4 separate regions of the Homo sapiens genome follow, and all the other regions are linked to region 4. The links are contacts of gene promoters, found by promoter capture Hi-C in blood cells and fetal thymus (Javierre and others, 2016). All regions are on one chromosome and are shown on one strand. Each heading gives the region's core, a stretch centred on a gene start or on the middle of the fragment in contact. The rest is flanking DNA. Distances are from core to core; before and after follow the strand shown.

Region 1 (3,791 bases), core at 1,260-3,759, 240 kb before region 4:
TTTGGGTGCATAAGAATCAGTTGGTGTACCGGTTAAAAATGTAGATTTCTAGATCCTAGTCCCCAGTGATTTTTATTGAGAATATAGAGGGTGGGACCCAGGAAAACTGCAGTGTCAAGAAGCCCCCTTCTGATTCTGATCAGCTACCCTATGGTCCACACTGTAAAATATTGGGGACCCTGTCATGACTTAAATTTGTATGCTAATTGTATTAGTCCATTTTCACACTGCTATGAAGAACTACCTGAGGCTGGGTAATTTGTAAAGAAAAGAGGTTCAATTGACTCACAGTTCCACAGGTTGTACTGAAGGCATGGCCTGGGGGGCCTCAGGAAACTTATAGCAATGGTGGAAGGGAAAAGGGGAAGCAGGCACATAATCACATGGCAGCAGGAGAGAGAGAGAACAAAGCAGGAAGCGCTACACAGCTTAAACAACCAGATCTCATGAGAACTCACTCACTATCATGAGACAGCAAGGGGGAAATCTGCCCCCATGATCTAATCACCTCTAACCAGGTACCTCCCCCAACACTGGGAATTACAATTCGACATGAGATTTGGGGACATAGAACCAAACCATGTCACTAATATTTCTAGATTTCATTCTGAACAGTAATAACTTACTAAATACACTATTTCTTCTTAAAAACCTGAGGGTAGTAGCAGTAGTATTTTTTTCAAATCACAATAGATGAACATACTTGATTTAAAAGCAAAACATTATGCTTTTAATCAATAATAGGCTGACAGAAACTTGAATGAAGTTTCTACATGGAAGTCACATAATATATTGACAGCAAAACTACTAGACTGATGATACATTGTCTGTCCTATTGCCGGTCCTATCCCAGACTTCAGATATGACAAGTACCTTCCCTTGCACACTTACACAGACATCATTCATTGATAATACCATACTTTCCAGCTACATCAGATGCAACCTCAGAATTCTTCTCAGCAAAAACAGTCATTACCAAGTTATCAAAGCTGGTGTGGGTGTGCAATTGTATTTGACATAACTGTCCCATCCCAAACAAAAAGCACTCTTCTTTCCTTCTTTATTTTATTCTCTCCTTCCTTTCCTCTCTCCTTACCTCTCCTCCCCACCCTCCAAAGCTTTCGGAAACAAGTGGTCCATATAACTCATATTGAAGCAAAATGGAAGACCCTATTTTGTCCTAAATTAAATCAAACCAAGAGCAGGGCTTCCGGGATCTTAAAAGAAAGCATGAAACTCCACCTATTTTCTTAGAAAATTCTCCTGGTAATGGTACATTTGTTTCTAAACAGGCAACAGATGGTCGATATCTATCCATTTTTAAGAAGATAGTGATTTCAAACCACATCTTCAAGTTCATCAAAGTACCGAGGAATCAAGAATCCTACATTTCTTTTTGAGGTTTCAATTTTGAATAAGCCGACAAAATAAACACTCTAAATTATTTTAGGAAAACATCATGTGTCTCAATTTAATCATTTTTTATGCTTAGCCAAATTGTATTTTGTGTACTTTTCTCTAAAATCTATACTTTGTTAAGTTGTGATGGTTAGATCATGTTTTAAAGTAGAAAATAACATAATCTCATTTTAGGAAATGTAGGATACTCAGAAAAATATGTAAAAGAAAATGAGCACCACCTATAAAATCACTACCCAAAGATAACTACTATTAAGACTTTGGTACATTTTTATTCATTCTATTATCCATGTATCTTCATGTGAATGTGTCTTTTTCTTTGATTTTCCCACAATATCTAGGTCATTTGGGGCATACTGTTTCCATCTGTCTTTTTTTTTTAATTTTCTTTTCTCATCTTTTATTTTCTTTCTTGCTTTTTTTTTTTCTTTTAGACAAGGTCTCGCTCTCTCACCCAGGCTGGAGTAATCTTGAACTCCTTAGCTCAAGTGATCCTTCCACCTAACCTCCTAAAGCTCTAGGATTACATCTGGGAGCTACCATACCCAGCACATAAAATTAGGCCATGTAATTAAATTATCTTTTCAAAACATATGTTTTCAACTCTAAGCTCAGGGGCACATGTGCAGGTTTGTTGTATAGGTAAACTTGTGGGTTTGTTGTTGTACAGATTATTTCCTCACTCAAGTATTAAGCCTAGTAGCCATTAGTTAATTTTTCTGAACCTCTCCATCCTCCTACCATCCACCTTCTGATAAGCCCCAGTGTGTGTTTTTCCCCTCTATGTGTCCATGTGTGCTCATCATTTAGCTCTCATTTATAAGTGAGAATGTGTGGTATTTGGTTTCTGTTCCTGTGTTAGTTTCCTAAGGGTAATGGCTTCCAGCTCCATACATGTCGCTGCAAAGGATATGATCTCAATCTTTTTTATGGCTACATAGTATTCCATAGTATATATGTACCTTATTTTCTTTATCCAGTCTGTCATTGATGAGCATTTAGATTGATTCCATGTCTTTGCTATTGTGAATAGTGTTGTAATGAACATACATGTATATATGTCTTTAAAACAGAACAATTTATATTCCTTTGGATATATACCCAGTAATGGGATTGCTGGGTCAAATGGTATTTCTGCCATTTGGTCTTTGAGGAATCACTGAACTGTCTTCCACAGTGGTTGAACTAATTTGCATTACCAACAGTGTATATGCATTTCTTTTTCTCCACAACCTCTCCAGCATCTGTTATTTTTTGACTTTTTAATAATAGCCATTCTGACTGGTGTGAGATGGTATCTCTTGTGGTTTTGATTTACATTTCTCTAATGGTTAGTGATATTGAGCTTTTTTTCATATGGTTGTTGGCCTCCTGTATGTCTCCTTTTGAAAAGTGTCTATTCATGTCTTTTGCCCACTTTTTGATGGAGTTGTTTTTTCTTGTAAATTTGTTGAAGTTCCTTATAGATGCTGGATATTAAACTTTTGTTGGATGCATAGTTTGCAAAAATTTTCTCCCATTCTGTAGGTTGTCTGTTTACTCTGTTGATAGTTTCTTTTGCTGTGCAGAAGCTCTTTAGTTTAATTAGATCCCATTTGTCAATTTTTGCTTTTGATGCAATTGCTTTTGGCATCTTAGTCATGAAACTTTTGCCTGTACATATGTCCTGAATGGTATTGCCTAGGTTGTCTTCCAGGGTTTTTATAGTTTTTGGCTTTACATTTAAGTCTTTAATACATCTTGAGTTAACTTCTGTATGTGATGTAAGGAAAGAGTCCAGTTTTAATCATCTGCACATGGCTAGCCAGTTATCCAGTACCATTTATGAATAGGAAATCTTTTCCCCATTGCTTGTTTTTGTCAGGTTTGTCAAGGATCAGATAGTTGTAGGTGTGTAGTCTTACTTCTGGGTTTTCTATTTGGTTCCATTGGTCTATGTGTCTGTTTTTTACCAGTACCATGCTGTTTTTGTTACTGTAGCCCTGTAGTATAGTTTGAAGTTAGGTAGCATGATGCCTCCAGCCTTTTTTTTTTTTTTCCTTAGGATTTCCTTGGCTATTTGGGCTCTTTTCATTCTATATGAATTTTAAAATAGTTTTTTTCTAGTTCTGTGAAGAATGTAAATGTGAGTTTAATAGGAATAGCCTTCAATCTATAAAAAGCCATACTGCTTTGGGCAGTATGGTGATTTTAATGGTAGTGATTCTTCCTATCCATGAGCATGGAATGTTTTTTCATTTGTTTGTTGATCAAAATCTCTGATTTCTTTGATCAGTGGTTTGTAGTTCTCCTTGTAGAGATCTTTCACCTCCATAGTTAGCTGAATTTCTGGGTATGTAATTCTATTTTTGGCAATTGTAAATGGGAGTTTG
Region 2 (4,007 bases), core at 111-2,610, 200 kb before region 4:
GCAGAGGGGACAGTCAACAAGGGTTTGTGAAGTGTGATGGGGAAAGGAATATAATTTCAATAGCAAACTTTACTGGGCTCTCCTATGGGACAGGCACTGCTTTAAGCACTATGAGGTACTATTATAATTCTCATTTTACAGAAGAGGAAGCAGAAAGACAGCAGGGTTAAACAATTTGGTTAATGTCACACGGTTAGTAATTTGTAGCACTAGGATTTAAACCCAGACGGTCTAATCCTACTGCCCAAGCTCATCAAACCCCCTGCTGCTAGGGTACTTATAAAGCAGAAGAGGATGAAAGAAACAAGGCTGAGGGTGAGCTGTTTAGAAGAGAGAGGAACTGAGAAGGTGGAGAGTTCTCCACCTGCTGGAATCACATCCTGGGTGAGGGCCACCTGAGACTGGAAACCAGAGGACCAAGGTGTCTGCTTTTGCTGCACCACTTGTTAATATGACTTTGAGCCTCAGTTTCCTTATCTGCAAAGTATGAGTGACAACCTGAGTAACTGCTTGTAAGGATGAAATGAAATAAGTTAGAACACACTTTGGGCATTCTCAGATGCTTTGTATGTGGTGGGACTCTAGATGCTGAGCTATGTTTCTCTTAACACATAAAGTAGGAAGCTTAATTTGATCATTGCACCTGCATTCACAGGAAGCCACTTTTCTTCTGTGATGCATTTTCCTGGCTAATGTTCCTATGTCTCTGCTGTTGGGCAGAGCTGTCATCTTCTTTATCTGGCTCTTGTGGCTCTGTTGATTTTTCCAAGTGTCTGAAAGAGCTGTACATTTTCTTACTTCACAGGATCAGTGATCCTAGCCTCCTGAGCCTGTATTATTGAACATCCTGTTACTTACTGCCACTGCTAAGTGGTATCAGTGGCAAAGTCACTGCTATGAACTCAACAGCCACTTGGACTCCTAAAGACCATATTTTTCCTATCTTGCCATAGCAAGATGATTTGCTCCAAGTCAAACAGAATTGATTTTTCAATTTTCTTTCCAGCGACTAATACCATCCCAGAGGTTACCAATCCTTGTTTTTACTGTCCCTCATGTTGTTTAAAGGATGCTTTCTAATTGGATGAAGTGGGAAGAGAAAGGGTGTGTGCAATTGGGAGGAGAGGAAGCAGGCAGTAATACCACCTTCTTCCCATCTCACCTTTACATAGGTCATCTCAACACATCACTGTCTCTACCCAGAACCAGTGTAGGGACAGCAGTGACATGGGCAAGGCTTAGTGCGCTTTGGCCTTCCCTTTTGGGGACCTGCTCAGCAATCCACTTCGCCTTCTTACCCTTGTTTCATTCTCTGCAGCTTGTTAATTCTTACTTAAACTGTCACTGCTGCTAATGGTGGTTGACTTTTAATAGAAAAATGTGAAAAAGAAAAGCCTTTAAGACTGCCCCCCCCTAAAATACATATTTCTGGAGATAGAATGTTCAGTTTTGGCACCAGAATTCCTTGTACCCCAAATTCCTGATTCTGGGCCTTTTCACTTTTGGCTCCTTCTGCTTTGCTTTTCCTCCTGATCGTCAACTGGCTCTATGCATTTCTTCATTCAGGTCTCTGCTCAAATGTCACCTCCCTAGAGAAGTTTTAAATTGCTTTTTTATGTAGTCATAATCCCCCGCCAACCCTGATCTTGCTTTATTTTTTTCATAATGCTTATCACTACTTGACACTATATTCTATATTTGTTAATTGTCTGTGTACCTCGAAAAGAATGTAATCTGTATGAACGTCAGGAGCGTCGTCTGTTTCAATTACTGCTGTGTTCGCTAAAGCAGGATCTTATTAGGGTCTATAAGATTTTTAAAATATATTCAAGTAAGTCATTGAAAAAAGTTTTTCTCATGCTTCCTAATCTTGTTAGATATGATATGCCTTCATTTTTCTGTTTGATATGTTTATGGCTTTAGCATTTTTTCTACATTTATTCATTGATTAATAAAAATCTTAACATTTATTAAGTTGCAGTGATTGGGCTGGTGCTGAGAATAAAAAGGTAACAGCACAGTCCCATTCTTCAAGATGCTCACAGTCAAGTGAAGAAGGCAGATGAGTAACAGACAAGTGCAATGGATGTGAGATGCGAAGCTTGGCAAGACAATACACATTCTGTAGCATCTCAGAATAAATGAGAATTAGCCAGAAGACCTGGGGGTATGGGGATGTCTTTCCAGGCAGAGACTAGTGTATGTTAAGGTCAAGAAGGTATAAGTGGCTGAGTGTGGTGGCTCACACCTGTAATCCCAGCACTTTGGGAGGCCAAGGCAGGCAGATCACCTGAGGTCAGGAGTTGGAGACCAACCTGGCCCACATGGTGAAACCCTGTCTCTACTAAAAAAATAAATAAATAAATAAATAAATAAATAAATAAATAAATAAATAAATAAATTAGCGAGTATGGTGGCAGGTGCCCCTAATCCCAACTGCTCTGGAGGCTGAGGCAGGAGAATCACTTAAACCCGGTAGGGGGAGGTTGCAGTGAGCCAAGATTGTGCCATTGGACTCCAGCCTGGGCGAAAAGAGTGAGACTCTGTCTCAATAAAAAAGAAGAAGAAGAAGAATTAAAAAAAAAAGAAGGTGTAAGCATTCATGGCAAATCCTTTGAGGTGAAGGCAGTTCAAAAAGCCCATCCTAAAGGACATGAACAAATATTGAGTGAGAAATCTGAAGATAAGTGAGGTGAGGTGGGAAATTATAAGAAGTAATGAATGCCATTTCAAAGAGTTTGAACTTCTTTAAAGACACCAAAGGATTTTAAATAAGGGAAAAATATAATTAGATATGTGTTGATTTACCCTGCTGCTTCCTCAAGGATTTTCTTTTACACCCAGAATTGGCATTGGCCACAATAGGTGAGCTGTGTAGCTATGGGAAAAAATTTTATTTATTTACATTAAATATGACTGCAGTCAGCAACAAAAAGATAAAAAGGATCTAAAGTATACAAACAGTATTCTGGTTAGCATACTTATTTTTTAAACCTTTTTAAATAGAAAATTTTAAGCATAAACCAAATAAGCAAATTGTATAATTAGCCTTCATCTGTCCATCATTCAGATTCAGCAATTGTCAATATTCTATGATTCTTGTTTCATCTGAACCCCTACTCATTTATCGCTGTTACCCTACCTCAATTATCACTGTTACAGTTCTAACAGCTCTTTTAAATATACAGTTTATATATGTCTATTGAAGTGCACCAATCCTAGCTGTAGGATTTTGACTCCTGCCCATGCCTCTGCTCAGGGCAGGATTGATTGACAGCCATCTAAGAACCAATAATGGGACACTGGAGCCCTGTAGAAGAAGCTGAGGGTTGAGGTAGAACAAAGCAGGAGGGGCAGAGGAGGGTAGAGACTGTCATAAGCAAACTGTACACTTTCCTATGCTTTCTTTTTTGATCTCACTCCCACTGAAACTTCCAGGCCTTTGGTCCTCTTATGCCAATGACAAGTCATGTGGGAAGGATGAAATTAGTTCATATCATAGGGTGCTATTTCTTTCTAAACTCTATGGCATTTTCTTTAAATCAACTTTATTGAGGCGTAATTTAGATACAAAAAGCACATCCACTTTAAATGAGCAGTTCAATAAGTATTGACAAATTTATGTATACCTGTGAACCACCACCACAACCAAGATTTAAGGCATTTCCATCTCCTCAGACAGGTTCCCTGTGCCCCTTCCCAGTCCTATGCCTCCAACCATGGCAACCTCTACTGATATTCCTCACCTAAGATCAGTTTTGCCTTTTCTAAAATTTCATATAAAAGGAATTATTCAGTATGTACTGCTTTGTGTCCAGTGTCTATTCTTTCGAGCATAATATTTGTGATGACAATCCATTTTGTCATGTCAGTAGTTCCTTTCTTTCTATTGCTGAGCAGTATTCCATTTAGATGGATATGCCACAAATTAGTGATCCATTCACCTGTTGATTTTTTTTTTCAGTTTGGGGCTATTACAAATAAAGCAGCTATGAATATTTGTATAT
Region 3 (3,747 bases), core at 713-3,212, 220 kb before region 4:
TAACTGGATTTTAAAAATGGGCAAAGGACCTAAATGAACATTTTCCCAGTGAAGACATACAAATAACCAACAGTATATGAAAAGGTGCTTCACATCACTAACCATCAGGAAAATACAAATCAAAACCACAATGAACTACCTATACCTGCTAGGATGGCTATTATCCAAAAGCCAAAAAAGTGCTAGTGAGGGTGTAGAGAAAAAGAATACATTGTTGCTGGGAATATTAATTGTTACATTCACTAAGGAAAACACTATGAAATCTCCTTAAAAAATTAGAAATAGAACTAACATATGATTCAGCAATCCCACTTCTGAGTATCTATCAAAGGAAATGAAATCAGTATGTCAAAGAACTTTCTATCTATCTGCACTTTCATGTTCACTGAAGCATTATTTATAGTAACCAAGATATGGATGATGAGTGGATAAAGAAAATGCAACACACACACACACACACACACACACACACACACACACACACGACTATACACATCATAAACCCTGGAATGATGTTCAGCCTAAAAAAATAAAGAAATTCTGCTATTTGTGACAACATGGATAAACCTGAAGGATGTTATACTAAGTGGAAGAAGCCAGGCACAGAAAGACAAATACTGCATAATCTCACTGATATTTGGAATCTAAAAAAAGCCAACTCATGGAAACAGAGTAGAATGGTGGTTACTCAGGGTTGAGGGGTGGGGAAATAGGGAGATATGGGTCAAATGGTATAAACTTCTAGTTGCAAGATCAATAAATTATAGACCAATAAATATAGATCAACTAAGATCAATAAATATACAGTAGAGTGACCATATTTAATAATATTGTATTGCATACCTGAAACATACTAAGAGAGTAGATCTAGAGAGTAGATCTTAAGTATTCTCACCACAAAAAATAAAGGTAACCATGTGAGGTGATGGTATGTTAATTAGTTTGATTGTCGAAATCATTTCATAAGTTATATGTATATCAAAACATCATGTTGTCCACCTTGAATATACACAATTTCTATTTGTCAGTTGTACTTCAATAAAGCTGAATTTATTTATTTATTTATTTAGTTAGTTAGTTATTGAGACAGAGTCTCGCTCTGTTGCCCAGGCTAGATTGCCGTGGTGAGATCTCAGCTCACTGCAATCTCTGCCTCCCAGGTTCAAGCAATTCTCCTGGCTCAGCCTCCTGAGTAGTTGGCATTACAGGCACATGCCACCACGCCTGGGTAATTTTTGTATTTTTAACAGAGATGGGGTTTCACCATGTTGGCCAGGCTGGGCTTGAACTCCTGACCTCAGGTGATCCACCTGCCTCGGCCTCCCAAAGTGCTGGGATTACAGGTGTGAGACACTGCTCCTGGCCTTGAATTCTTTTTAAAGATGTGGGAAAATTCCATCTACAAATTCTGAGTGTGCCTGGGCCTGAGGTTGTCATGAGGCACAGTCATTCTCAGAGATGCAGTCTTCGTCTTTCGAGCAACTCTGACTTTGTGTGACTGTAGAGGTTTTGGAAGTGACACTGCCCTTAATAGTCTTCATTCCTTTGTTGAGGACCTAAAATCACAGCTGTTAGTTACAGGCCATTAAAAGTGGGTACTATGTATGATATATTTGTTTGAATATATCTAGGATATATATTTTCAATTTTGGGATGATTTCTTTTGCATTCTTTAGTCTTTGAGAATTTTAAGGAACAAAGAATTTTAAAAGCACAGGTTGGCTTGATGTGCAAGCATACATACATATGTATATTCATATTAAGGGAAAATATGAATAACATTTAACTACTGGTATGACCCAGGCACTGACTAATTCAGAACCAAGAGAATGGATGCTAGCCATACACAATCTAGGTGGCAGAGCTGGCACCCCACAGGCTATTAGCCTTGTTTATTAGTAATATTTTGCTAGTCCAGAAAGAATTAAGTTTGTTTACAAAAATTCAAAAAGATAAAATAACTGTAAACATGAAAAGGTAGGCCGGGCATGGTGGCTCATGCCTGTAATCCCAGCACTTTGGGAGGCCGAAGCAGGAGAATCTTTTGAGCCCAGGAGTTTGAGACTAGACTGGGCAACGGAGTGAGACCTCATCTCTACAAAAATAAAAATTAAAAAAAATTAGCCAGGTGTGGTGGTGCATGCCTGTAGTCCCATCTACTTGGGAGGCTGAAGTGGGAGGCTCACTTGAGCCCAGGAGGTTGAGGATTCAGTCAACTGTGATCACGCCTCTGCATTCAAGCCTGGGAGACAGAGTGAGACCCTGTCTCAAAAAAAAAGTTTAAAAAATTTTGCCAAAGGAAAGTAGAAAATAGGAAAGGCAAGATGAAGCCAGTGGAGAAATGAACATTTAAAATACACCTTGCATGGTCTTAGGCACTTTTTAGGGACAGAAGGAAAAGGTGCTTCCCATCATGCTCCACCAGGGGGCACTGAACTTGTGACAGTTTATCCTTTTTTCGCTTTTGAAGTCACTCACATTCTCAATAATACACATGACCAGCTAGATGCTAACCATGCATTGGCTAAATTAATACCTTCAATCTTTAGAAAAACAGAGCATTTTTTTTAGTTGCCAACACAATATTTCCTGTATGCCTTTTCCCCAGAGGGCAGAGGGAAGAATAGATGAGAAACAGTTCCTCTGAACTGATAGAGCATGTGTGAGTTCAGCCTAATGTCATTATGTCAGATTGGATCTGAGTTACAGTGACCACTTAGACATCATGCAATTTGGTGATAAAAGAAAGGTCTGTTTTTCAGCTGTGGTCTCTTAACTAGCTACAAATGATCACCAGGCTGACTGCTTCATGTACTCTTTCTCTCATCATCCTACTACACAGATTTGCTTTGTGGAATTTTATTGACTCTATATTCTTTGAAGTACTTTGCTTGACATACTTGCTGAGGGGAAAATGTTCTAACAAGTGAATGAAGCCTTAGTAGCCTAATATTAGTACCTCTAAATCGACAGCTCTGAAGAATATATAAAAAATTAATGCACGAAGGACACTGCCTGGCATGTAAGTGCTATAAAAGTAATTGCTTCTATGCTGATCGAAAGAAGCAATTAGAAATACAGTCAGCCCTCCATCCTGGCTAATACGGTGAAACCCTGTCTCTACTAAAAATATAAAATATTAGCCAGGCATGGTGGCAGGCACCTGTAGTCCCAGCTACTTGGGAGGCCTCTGAGGCAGGAGAATCACTTGAACCCGGGAGGTGGAGGTTGCAGTGAGCTGAGATCGCGCTACTGCACTCCAGCTTGGGCGACAGAGCGACTCCATCTCAAAATAAATAAATAAATAAATAAATAAATAAATAAATAAATAAATACAGTCAGCCCTTCATATCCATGTGTTCTGCATTTGTGTGTTTACCTAACCACGGGCTGAAAATATTTGAGAAAAATATGCATCATACTGAACATGTATGGATTTTTTTCTTGTTATTATTTCCTAAACAATACAGTATAACTATTTACATAACATTTACATTGTACTAGGTATTATAAATAATCTAGAGATGATTTAAAGTATATGAGAGAATGTACGTAGGTTATATTGAAATACTATGCCATTTTATATCAGGGACTTGAACGTCTACAGATTTTGGTATCTGAGGGAGGTCGTGGAACCAATCCCCCATGGATATTAGGGATGACTGTACTTCCCATTCTCCAGATTAGTCCTCATATTCAAGCCTCAAATAATTAAAGAGATAGAATCACCTACAATTTCAGCAAAAT
Region 4 (3,720 bases), core at 76-2,575:
TGTTCTAATTTCTCCACATTCTCACTAACGTTTATTTTTTGTTTTTAAAAATGTTCTTATAGCCATCCTAGTGGGTGAAAAGTGGCATCTCAAAAAAATAAAAATAAAAAGCATTCTCACGTCAGGTCTTAAGTTTTCTTCTTTTGTATATGAGGCCACAAAATTGAGAGAAATTTTCCCTAAGATGAGCTGAAAGTGAATTTAATGAAATTCTGAACAACAGAGCTGTTTTTCACTGACTCCCATCACACACTTCCCAAAGAGCAACCATGATCAAAGCCAAGGCATCTAAATAATGACTGTTGAAATCCAAGCTCCCAGAGGTACAGATAGTCAGGTGTCTTTAGTCAGTGATTGGCAGAGGCATCTAAGGCATTATATGAGGCTTGGCTAGTAAAATGCTCTTCTGGGATTCTGGGACAATACCCACTCTCTTTTCTTTTAACTTAATGAACATTTATTTTCTCTCCATATGTGCTGTATTTGTAAAGGAAAAATAAATATAACTAAACACCAATTGTACATTCCACTTTAAAGAAGGCAATTTGTTCAGGTAAAATAATGGGTTAAAACAGTTTCAGCCGTATGAAATTTCAAATTCCATCCTAGCACATTCCTCATTAATAATTGCACACATTCCTATGAAAGTCTGTCATTTATTTTAGTCTTTGATTGCTATCATCAACACACTACAGAAGTTATTCTTTCCTGTTCAAGACAATTAGTTTTGGGAACTAAAACACATGCAGTATATGTAAGTGATTACCTGGATAAAGCAACAGGGCATTAGGAAATATACTTTTTTGTTTTTAATTTCTGCATCCATTTCTTCATTCTGGACCGGTACAGATAGCCTCCATGAGGAGTTTAGCCTCTCCTTGGAGTAAACTCTACTGAGAGGAGGAAAACTGAGACTTACAGTACAGCGGGCACAGCCTGGTTGAGGAGAAGGAGAAACTAAGGAAAAACTGGAGACAGCAAAGCTTGAAGGAGGCAGAGCACTAAGCTGCTGCGGGTCACTCTTCCTGTGAACAGGCTAGTTTCAAATAAAGGCTTGCAGGGATCTTACCGAGCAAAGCAACGTTTATGAAAAGGAACAGGGAAGTTGCATGGAGTGTGATTCTTCCTTCCACAGGAACAGTTGGAAAGCCAAAGAGACCCTAGAGTAAGAATGGTGGTAAGTCCCAGGGTTCGTTTAAAATCCTGATAACGGAACATACATTCTTTCTTACGGGAAAACCGTTTTGATTCTTAAATGAAGTCAGTGAGCTTCAGGCTTGCCTACATTGATATCTCCTAATGGTTTGGGCACGTGACCCAGAGCCAGCTCACAAATCAAGCCTCAGAAAGAGCTGACATCCTAGCTCTTCCCGGAAAAACTCGAATGTCGCCCTGCCGTTCCTGGGGTTGGTGACAGGTCTGGTCATCGCACGGCGGCAGCTCCTCACCTGGATTTAGAAGAGCTGGCGTCCCCGCCCGCCCAAGCCTTTAAACTCTCGTCTGCCAGAACCCGCCAACTCTCCAGGGTACAAAGTACAGCAGGGACGCGGGTGGAGCCCTTCCAAGCGGCGCAGCCTTATCTTTCCCGAGTGAACACCTAGGTGGATTCCCAACACCGCGCCTGGCACGTTTCTGGAGGGAGTCTCAAGCTCCTCCAGAGCTCCCAGCTGCGCGTCCTCGTTTCTGCAGTCGATATTCCTGTGGGAGACACGGGGGGCTCTGAGCGCTACGAGCTTTATTAAGAGATTTGCGAATGGTTCACTCAGGTCCCTGAACACTCCCAATAGCCTAAGCTGCCTGCTGTGTTATAGCGCAGAAGCCCCTAACGCACGGTGGTTGTCCTTTCTTCTCATAACGCTCGCAGCTTAGGGCCAGTTTCCGCGATTCTAAGAGTAATTGCGTGGGCACCTGTGCTGGGGCCAGGCGCAAAGAAGGGAGTTGGTCTGCGCGAAGATCGTCAACCTGCTAACAGACCGCACATGCACTTTGCACCGACCATCTACGTCTCAGTCTGGAGGTTGCGCACTTTGGGTAAGGAGGGCCCGGAACTTCCCTGGCGGGTCTGAGCTGCAAGGCAAGCGAGGGTGGGAAGAGGGAATTTAGGGTTCTGGACTGCGGGACGGGAGAGAAGCTGGGGTCTCCAGAGAAAAGGGCAGCAATGGAGGGAAACTGAGATGAACTCCAGACATCCATGTTCATGGATCCGTTTGAGTCTTTGCTTTGGGTAGGAGAGGAGTGGAATGAGACAGAATCTATACCTTTGGTTCCCACCCGCCCTCCAGTAAGGCCGAGGAACTCTCTTGGTTCCTCTGAGAGCAAGAGGCAGATGGTGCTGCGAGGGAACCCCGGAAGGAGCCACTAAAGTTGAGCAGAGTGCAGGACTGGGAAGGAAAAAAATGGGGGGCGGGGGGGACAAGCCACCTATGTGCTCTCCTCCCTTTCTCCACCCCACCCCCTTTTTTCGTAGCTGCTGACGCGCTGGTGGTGCCTATTAATCATTTACCAGTCCAGAGCCGCGCCAGTTAATGGCTGTGCCGTGCGGTGCTCCCACATCCTGGCCTCTCCTCTCCACGGTCGCCTGTGCCCGGGCACCCCGGAGCTGCAAACTGCAGAGCCCAGGCAACCGCTGGGCTGTGCGCCCCGCCGGCGCCGGTAGGAGCCGCGCTCCCCGCAGCGGTTGCGCTCTACCCGGAGGCGCTGGGCGGCTGTGGGCTGCAGGCAAGCGGTCGGGTGGGGAGGGAGGGCGCAGGCGGCGGGTGCGCGAGGAGAAAGCCCCAGCCCTGGCAGCCCCACTGGCCCCCCTCAGCTGGGATGTTCCCCAATGGCACCGCCTCCTCTCCTTCCTCCTCTCCTAGCCCCAGCCCGGGCAGCTGCGGCGAAGGCGGCGGCAGCAGGGGCCCCGGGGCCGGCGCTGCGGACGGCATGGAGGAGCCAGGGCGAAATGCGTCCCAGAACGGGACCTTGAGCGAGGGCCAGGGCAGCGCCATCCTGATCTCTTTCATCTACTCCGTGGTGTGCCTGGTGGGGCTGTGTGGGAACTCTATGGTCATCTACGTGATCCTGCGCTATGCCAAGATGAAGACGGCCACCAACATCTACATCCTAAATCTGGCCATTGCTGATGAGCTGCTCATGCTCAGCGTGCCCTTCCTAGTCACCTCCACGTTGTTGCGCCACTGGCCCTTCGGTGCGCTGCTCTGCCGCCTCGTGCTCAGCGTGGACGCGGTCAACATGTTCACCAGCATCTACTGTCTGACTGTGCTCAGCGTGGACCGCTACGTGGCCGTGGTGCATCCCATCAAGGCGGCCCGCTACCGCCGGCCCACCGTGGCCAAGGTAGTAAACCTGGGCGTGTGGGTGCTATCGCTGCTCGTCATCCTGCCCATCGTGGTCTTCTCTCGCACCGCGGCCAACAGCGACGGCACGGTGGCTTGCAACATGCTCATGCCAGAGCCCGCTCAACGCTGGCTGGTGGGCTTCGTGTTGTACACATTTCTCATGGGCTTCCTGCTGCCCGTGGGGGCTATCTGCCTGTGCTACGTGCTCATCATTGCTAAGATGCGCATGGTGGCCCTCAAGGCCGGCTGGCAGCAGCGCAAGCGCTCGGAGCGCAAGATCACCTTAATGGTGATGATGGTGGTGATGGTGTTTGTCATCTGCTGGATGCCTTTCTACGTGGTGCAGCTGGTCAACGTGTTTGCTGAGCAGGACGACGCCACG

The links. Contacts are between HindIII fragments. The CHiCAGO score rates a contact against its expected background, and 5 or more counts as called.
Region 1: a contact is called between a fragment that was not itself captured here and the fragment with the promoter of SSTR1 in region 4, in 5 of 17 cell types (naive CD8 T cells, neutrophils, total CD4 T cells and 2 more). The highest score is 8.9, in naive CD8 T cells.
Region 2: a fragment that was not itself captured here is called in contact with the fragment with the promoter of SSTR1 in region 4 in 4 of 17 cell types (neutrophils, naive CD8 T cells, total CD8 T cells and 1 more); the score reaches 7.6 in neutrophils.
Region 3: a contact is called between a fragment that was not itself captured here and the fragment with the promoter of SSTR1 in region 4, in 7 of 17 cell types (neutrophils, naive CD4 T cells, naive CD8 T cells and 4 more). The highest score is 16.4, in neutrophils.

What each region holds. Positions count from the first base shown.
Region 1 is chr14:37,961,889-37,965,679 of GRCh38, forward strand. No RefSeq gene overlaps it. Among named protein-coding and RNA genes, the nearest start is that of LINC00517, 62 kb to the left of the region's middle. The HindIII fragment of the contact is 2,787 bases long and covers 1,117-3,791 here.
Region 2 is chr14:38,004,376-38,008,382 of GRCh38, forward strand. The region is part of intron 3 of LOC105370456 (a long non-coding RNA gene); the gene reads right to left. Among named protein-coding and RNA genes, the nearest start is that of LINC00517, 100 kb to the left of the region's middle. RefSeq lists an enhancer at 51-587. The HindIII fragment of the contact is 1,477 bases long and covers 623-2,099 here.
Region 3 is chr14:37,983,626-37,987,372 of GRCh38, forward strand. No RefSeq gene overlaps it. Among named protein-coding and RNA genes, the nearest start is that of LINC00517, 83 kb to the left of the region's middle. The HindIII fragment of the contact is 5,574 bases long and covers 1-3,747 here.
Region 4 is chr14:38,206,579-38,210,298 of GRCh38, forward strand. SSTR1 (somatostatin receptor 1) reads left to right here and starts at 1,326. Exons shown (of 3, transcript NM_001049.3): 1 at 1,326-1,526; 2 at 1,865-2,031; 3 at 2,468-3,720. The coding sequence starts at 2,812. LOC124903303 (a long non-coding RNA gene) reads right to left here and starts at 2,709. Exons shown (of 2, transcript XR_007064117.1): 1 at 2,504-2,709; 2 at 637-1,698. RefSeq lists enhancers at 1,128-1,789, 2,773-3,476, 3,477-3,720. The HindIII fragment of the contact is 9,392 bases long and covers 982-3,720 here.